Linked DNA regions of Homo sapiens: region 2 is linked to region 1. The links are contacts of gene promoters, found by promoter capture Hi-C in blood cells and fetal thymus (Javierre and others, 2016). All regions are on one chromosome and are shown on one strand. Each heading gives the region's core, a stretch centred on a gene start or on the middle of the fragment in contact. The rest is flanking DNA. Distances are from core to core; before and after follow the strand shown. Region 1 holds the start of PALB2 (partner and localizer of BRCA2). Region 2 overlaps RBBP6 (RB binding protein 6, ubiquitin ligase).

Region 1 (3,430 bases), core at 327-2,826:
GAAAGCTCCCATTTGAGAGAAAAAAACATAAAGTGGGGTGCTGTCCACAATGGAGTGAGTCCAGGATATCAAAAAAGCAATGATGGATTAGGAAACTATGGCTGAGTATGGTGGCTCATGCCTGTAATCTCAGCACTTTGAGAGGCTGAGGCAGACGGATCCCTTGAGGACAGGAGCTCAAGACCAGCCTAGGCAACATAGTGAGACCCCTTCTCAACAAAAAAAAAATTTTTTAATTAGCCGGGCATGGTGGCGCGTGTCTGTAGTCCCAGCTCCTCAGAAGGCTGAGGCTAGAGGATCGCTTGAGCCTGGAAGGCCGAGGCTGCAATGAGCTGTGATTGTGCCACTGCACTCCAGCCTGGGCAACAGAGTGAGAACCTGTCTCAAAAAATAAAAACACAAAGGAAACTAGGGACTCAAGGAATAAACTCATAATTTGAATGTCTATAGCTTGGTGGCATCAGACAGACGCGGATTCAAATCCCACTTCCACGCGTGGGCTTTACGGCCTTAAAACGAGGATAATGACTATGAGTATCAGAGTTGTGAGAAAGCAAAGAAAACCAAAATAACGATAGTAACGTTAATTGACCACTTGCCCTGTTTCCAAGATTTTACAAACATATCATGTACTGATCATAAAGAACCAAATCGGCAGGGTGCGGTGGCTCACGCCTGTAATGCCAGCACTTTGGGAGGCCGAGGCGGGTCGATCACCTGAGGTCAAGAGTTAGGGACCTGCCTGGCCAACACGGTGAAACCCCGTCTCTACCAAAAAATACAAAAATTAGCCGGGCGTGGTGGCGGGCGCCTGTAATCCCAGCTACTCGAGACGCTGAGGCAGGAGAATCGCTTGAACCCGGGAGGCGGAGGTTGCAGTGAGCAGAGATCGCGCCGCGGCCCTCAGGACTGGGCGACAGAGTCTCCGCCCCCCAACCCCCTTCCTCAAAAAAAAAGAACCGAATCGTTTTTAGCGCAAGTTAACAGATACAAAAGGCAGTGTAAAAGGGCCCGAAGTCCGAGCTGTAATTCGTATGAACAGGATGGGACTTGTCCTATCCTCCCGAAGGCACTTTACCCCTATGAGAAAATCAGGAATAAATACAAAAGGCCTCAACTGGCCAAGCGCGGAGTAAACAGCAAAGCCAGACGGTACACGGGGCATCGCTAGATAATCCGGGACTAATGGCCAAAGGGACAGGGGTTGGTGGGGTAGGGGCAGGTTGGGAACGCCGACCAGGCCTCAAAGGGACGCAGGGTTGGAAAGAGGAGGATACATATCTGGACCCGCGCACCGTCTCGATGTACTCAGACTTGTTGTAGAGCAGCTCGCCCAACTCCATGGCCGCCGCCTCCTTCCCTCAGCCCCGGATCCTGTCAGAGTCAGTCGGTCAGTCTTTCAGAGATTCCGGCTACTTCCGGCCGCTCCTCCACTTCCGCTCCAGGTGGCCCACTGGGACTCATCGACAGCGCGGCTCTCCTTTAGGCGGCCTCGCTCCACTGCTCGGCCGTCTACGGCTGCGCGTGCGCAGGCCGAATGGTGGATTTAATTGGCCGGAGTTTAGGGCGCGCTTGGCCCGCGTGGGTCAGCTGATCGCGCACTGAGGGTGCGATCCCGGGCTCCCCATTCCTTCCTGGGGCGCCTCCCCGGCCCAGGGCCAACTGGGTCCCGGTGTCGGCAGGCCTGGGGTCGGCGACGGCTGCTCTTTTCGTTCTGTCGCCTGCCCGATGGACGAGCCTCCCGGGAAGCCCCTCAGCTGTGAGGAGAAGGAAAAGGTGCCGGGGGTGCGGGAAGGGCGGACGCAGGACTCTGACCCCGCTTTCCCAGGGTTTTAGGCCTGGCTTTGTGTCCTCGGCAGTCCGAGGGCAGCAGTATCATCTGACCACCCCCTCCTCTTAGGGCTGAGGGGGCACAGAAAATGAAAATGTGGAAATAGCGTGGTGCTCACGTGGTGGCGTTTAAAGAACAAATTTCATTACAGTAGCAGCGCATTAATACAATGTGTAACAGTTTGTAGATAAAGCTGTATCGACACCCTTGCTCCTCCCCCCTCCCACACCCTCAATCTTTACTTCTCCCCCCGGACGGCCTCAAGTAAATCTTTTAAGTCTGGTACTTCCAGGTCCTTTCGTGTGTTAATGTGGGTGGTGGAGGAGGGGCGTATCCCTAACCACCAAAAAGGAATCCTATGTATATTTTTTGGAGAAGGGAATGTTCATAAATGGTATGATCTGAATGGTTCTGCAGGTTCCGTTTAGCTTTCCTGTCAGGACATGTTTATCTACCTTGCTTTCTTTTTTAAGTTCTAGACAGTATGTTGTAGTTTGGAAGTGCCCTCGTTTTGTTTCTTTTTTCTTCCTTTTCTGTTTTTCTTCTTTTTTGAGACAGAGTCTCACTCTGCCACCCATGCTGGGGTGCAGTGGCGCGATCTCGGCTCACTGCAACCTCCGCTTCCTGGGATCAAGCGACTCTCCTGCCTCAGCCTCCCGAGTAGCTGGGATTACACGAACCCGCCACTGCACCTGGCCTTGGAAGTGCCCTTGCTTCTTTAGACTGTACTTTACTGATAGACTTTTAGGATGTTTCCAGCTTGTGCTGATGTTATTCTTATCCTGGCTTACCTTCTGGTGGAGGTGAGAAAGATCATTTATAAGTAAACAAGATAATCCCCAGACATTGATAAGATTGGTGGGAGGCCAGTCTCCCTGGCTCACGCCTGTAATCCCCGCACTTTGGGAGGCCGAGATGGGCAGATCGCTTGAGCTCAGAGTTTGAGACCAGCCTAGGCAACGTAGTGAAACCCCGTCTCTACTAAAAATACAAAAATTAGCCGGGTGTGGTGACGCCAGCCTGTAGTCCCAGAGGCTCAGGCCTCAGAGGCTGATGCACGAGAATCGCTTGAACCAGGGGACGCTGAGGTTGCAGGGAGCTGCCGAGATCGCGCCACTGCACGCCAGGCTGGACGACAGAGTGAGACTGTCTCTCAAAAAAAAAGAAAATTCCTTACGGTTGGCAACTTGTCTAGTAGCATGTTTTGCACATAGGTTTTGTTTTGTTTGTTTTTGAGACAGACTCTCCGCTCTATCTCCCAGGCTGGAGTGCAGTGGCTCGATCTTGGCTCACTGCAACCTCCGCCTCTCAGGTTCAAGCGATTCTCCTGCCTCAGCCTCCCGAGTAGTTGGGATTACAGACGCCCAACACCACGCCGGGCTAATTTTTGTATTTTTAGTAGAGACAGGGTTTCTCCATGTTGGCCAGGCTGGTTTTGAACTCCTGACCTCAGGTAATCTGCCCGCCTTGGCCTTCCAAAGTGCTGGGATTACAGGTGTGAGCCACTGCACCCGGCCTTTTTTTTTTTTTTTTTTTTCAAGCAGAGTCTCGCTCTGTTGCCCAGGCTGGAGTGCAGTGGCGTGATCTAGGCCCACTGCA
Region 2 (3,430 bases), core at 437-2,936, 920 kb before region 1:
TACTTATTCATTTATTTTTTATTTTTTGAGACAGAGTCTCACTCTGTCGTCCAGGCTGGACTACAGTGGTGTAATCTTGGCTCACTGCAACCTCCACCTCCTGGGTTCAAGCGAATTCTCCTGCCTCAGCTTCCCAAGTAGCTGGGACTAGAGACGTGTGCCACCATGCCCAGCTAATTTTTGTATTTTTAGGAGAGACAGGGTTTCACCATGTTGGGCAGGCTGTTCTCAAACTCCTGACCTCAGGTGATCTGCACAAAGTGCTGGGGTTACAGGTGAGAGCCACCACACCTGGCCCCAAAAGTTTAAATGAAGGAAAACCAACTCCTGTAACCTCTTTTTTGAGGGAGGAAGTGGGTAAAGATCATACAAAGCAGAATAAATTCTAGTTTTAACTTCTATAATTAACAATGAAAATATCAACGCTTTCTCTCAAAAGCTTAAGTAAAAATAACAGTGTTGGCTAAGTTTCTAATTTGTGCCTCACCAAACAGAACTGGTTACTTCTGTTAAACTAGAGGTGCTTTAAATTATAAATAATTGGTACACAACAGCAACAGTAGGGGTTTAGATTTTAAGCATCTTTTCAGTGAGCCATGAATAACTATTACCTTCTTTTAAAATGTGATCCAGTAATGACATAGTAAACTTTCATAAGTTTAGCAATGAAGCACTAGAAGATATCCCGAATTTCCTTCTTTTTGGAGACAGGGTCTCACTCTGTCCCCTAGGCTAAAGTGCAGTGATGTGGTTATAGCTCACTGCAGCCTTGACTTCCTAAGCTCAAGTGATCCTCCTGCCTCAGCCTCCCAGGTAGCTGGGACCACAGGTGCATGCCACCATGTCTGGTTATTTTATTTTTTTGGTAGAGACAGAGTCTTGCTATGTTGCCCAGGCTAATCTTGAACTTCAGGCCTCAAGCAATCCTCCCCCATCAGCCTCCCAAAGCTCTAAAATTACCAGCATGAGCCATTATGCCTGGCCAAAACTCTTGTTATGAAGTTTTGGAGGCTCCTTTATCCTGGTGGTGATTATGACCTAGACTAGCAGTTCTCAACCGTTTTGGCACCAGGGAGCTGTTTTGTGGAAGACAATTTTTCCATGGACGGGGGCAGGGGGGTAAAAACTGTTCCACCTTAGATGATCAGGCATTAGATTCTCCTAAGAAGCGTGCAACCCAGATCCTTTGCACACGCAGTTCACAACAGGGTTCATGCTCCTATGAGAATCTTAATGCCACTGCTGATCTGACAAGAGGTGGAGCTCAGGTGGTAATGCTCGCTCAGCTGCTGTTCACCTCCTGCTGTGTTGCCCAGTTCCTAACAGGCCAAGGATGGATACTGGTCTGTGGCCCAGGGTTGGGGACCCCTGACCTAGACAGTAAGATTCTTACTTCTTAGATTAATATTGCTTGTACCCGCCCACTAGGGCAGGAGCCTCTAACAATCTCCTGTCTCTTCTTTTGGAAAAGAGACGGTGGGAGATGATTGGGACAGTGGGGTCTAGAAGAGAAATAGTTGCAATTCTTGTTCACAGTTGGGAGCTGAGCTTGTTAACTTTAATCTTAAATTAAACTGGTATCTTAGATATTGTCTGACCCCTGACTTTCTTCTACTTCCAAGAGGGTAAATGCAAGCCAATACTCTGCTGTTTGCTGACAGGGAGAAAGTAATCACTGGGAAGGAATATTAAAAATGTCTTAAAAACCATCATTTAAGATACTATATATAATTTATTCTTTTCTAGCCCTCTTTAAGGACAACTACCCAGGACTTAAGAGGGATAAGCACAATACAAACAAATGACCCCCTTCCTTCCTGCCACTGCTGTGCTTTAATTTCTTTGGTGAGATATATATATAAAAAATAAGATGATTATTTTCCAAGATTTTTAGCATGCCTACCTGTAGCAGCTCCTCTCCCCTCTTCTAATTTGTTGTGGTGGAGAAACCAGATAGCCAAGTTTGTTGGAACTGTGTGGGAGAAAAAAAAATAGGCTCAAGTATTTCTCCATGGGTATAATACATGACCTTTCCATGCATAGCTGTTAAGACACCAATTTTAACTACTCTGAAAACTTTTTCCTACTCCCCAGTTCTTAAATTTGTTTCGGATACAGAGCTGAGTAAATATTATATTTACTTAAAACTAACTTTCCCCCACCAATTAACTGTATCATAACAATAACTAGACCTCAAAATAGATTACTTTATGTAATATTATATTTTAATTAGCACTCTATAAATTACTCTGTGAACTTATTGTTATATACAAGGAAAAGAGCCCTTTTGTCTGCTGGGCACAATGAAGTCATTTTACATGTTAAGGTAGGTAGTGTCATTCCAAATCCAAACGAGGAAATGGATGTTAGGGAGTAAAACCACAAGACCACTGTCATGCAGCTAGGAAATGAAGGAGATGGGATTCAAACCCAAGTCTACCTGTTTCTAAATCCTATGTTCCTTCTACTGATACATCCTGCTAGTAACTCATACTTTTAAGAATATATCAATTTTCAATCGGATTATATAAACAGAAATAATTATATAACTAAAAATACATTAAGTAAGTCTGCTGATTTTTAATGCCATAAAATATCCCACAGAGAAAATCAAAGTTCTTTGTATTTTAGGGTGGCAAGAACAACTCGATTTCAGACAAAAAATTTTTGTTTGGTAGACGTTAATCTTATTATGTATTTATGTACTCAAATCAAACTTTGATCATCCAAATTAAGGGTAGAAAAAGTTAAACCTACTAGGAAAATAACTGCCACCATATTTAAAATAACTTTTCAAGTAATTCTTATCTATTCATTAAACTGAAGTCCTGTCAAGATCCCCATTTGTTGGATATGAAAGTAGAAAAAAACTTTTAAAATTTTGTATTTTAGAAAAGATTTGCTCATTTAAAAAAAACCCTCATATAAGCTTGAATTTTGACATTTTACATAAAAAATGTTAATCTGGCACATGAAAGTTTACAATAAAGAGCAGCGACCCGCTGCCTAGTTTGGACCTTCCATTATCTAGTTTGCCTAGTTTGGACCTTCCATTATCTAGTTTGCAGGCAATCATCTGAAGATTATTGTAAACATCTACTCACTGTTCCCAGCCTGGTCGACCACCACCTGGACGAGCAGTATTTATTCTTACTGGACCTAGAAACAAAAAATAAAAGCAGTAGGTAAATACAAAATTGCACATTAAATCAAGCTAAAATTATTTTTTAAAGGGAAAAAGGTCTAAACCAAAGTGATCTTACTCACCAGTTGTGGGGATCAACTGTCCATGCAATAATGACTGTCCAAGCAAAGATGGGGTTCCAAGAACAGGCACCTGGTAACCCTTTAGAAACAACCACAAATAAACAGAAATAGTTAAAAAAAAAAAAAAAAAAGAGGTAAGAACAAAGCCAGAAAAACAAAACCC

Evidence for each region. The method cuts DNA at HindIII sites, captures the fragments that hold promoters and counts their contacts. A CHiCAGO score of 5 or more calls a contact.
Region 2: a contact is called between a fragment that was not itself captured here and the fragment with the promoter of PALB2 in region 1, in 1 of 17 cell types (M2 macrophages). The highest score is 6.6, in M2 macrophages.

The regions. Positions count from the first base shown.
Region 1 is chr16:23,639,456-23,642,885 of GRCh38, reverse strand. It overlaps PALB2 (partner and localizer of BRCA2), which reads left to right and starts at 1,576. Exons shown (of 13, transcript NM_024675.4): 1 at 1,576-1,776. The coding sequence starts at 1,729. It overlaps DCTN5 (dynactin subunit 5), which reads right to left and starts at 1,420. Exons shown (of 6, transcript NM_032486.4): 1 at 1,296-1,420. The coding sequence starts at 1,343. RefSeq lists an enhancer at 358-1,147 and a silencer at 2,275-2,509. The HindIII fragment of the contact is 17,437 bases long and covers 1-3,430 here.
Region 2 is chr16:24,563,339-24,566,768 of GRCh38, reverse strand. It overlaps RBBP6 (RB binding protein 6, ubiquitin ligase), which reads right to left. Exons shown (of 18, transcript NM_006910.5): 12 at 3,268-3,346; 13 at 3,105-3,159; 14 at 1,904-1,972. Among named protein-coding and RNA genes, the nearest start is that of RBBP6, 25 kb to the right of the region's middle. The HindIII fragment of the contact is 2,490 bases long and covers 442-2,931 here.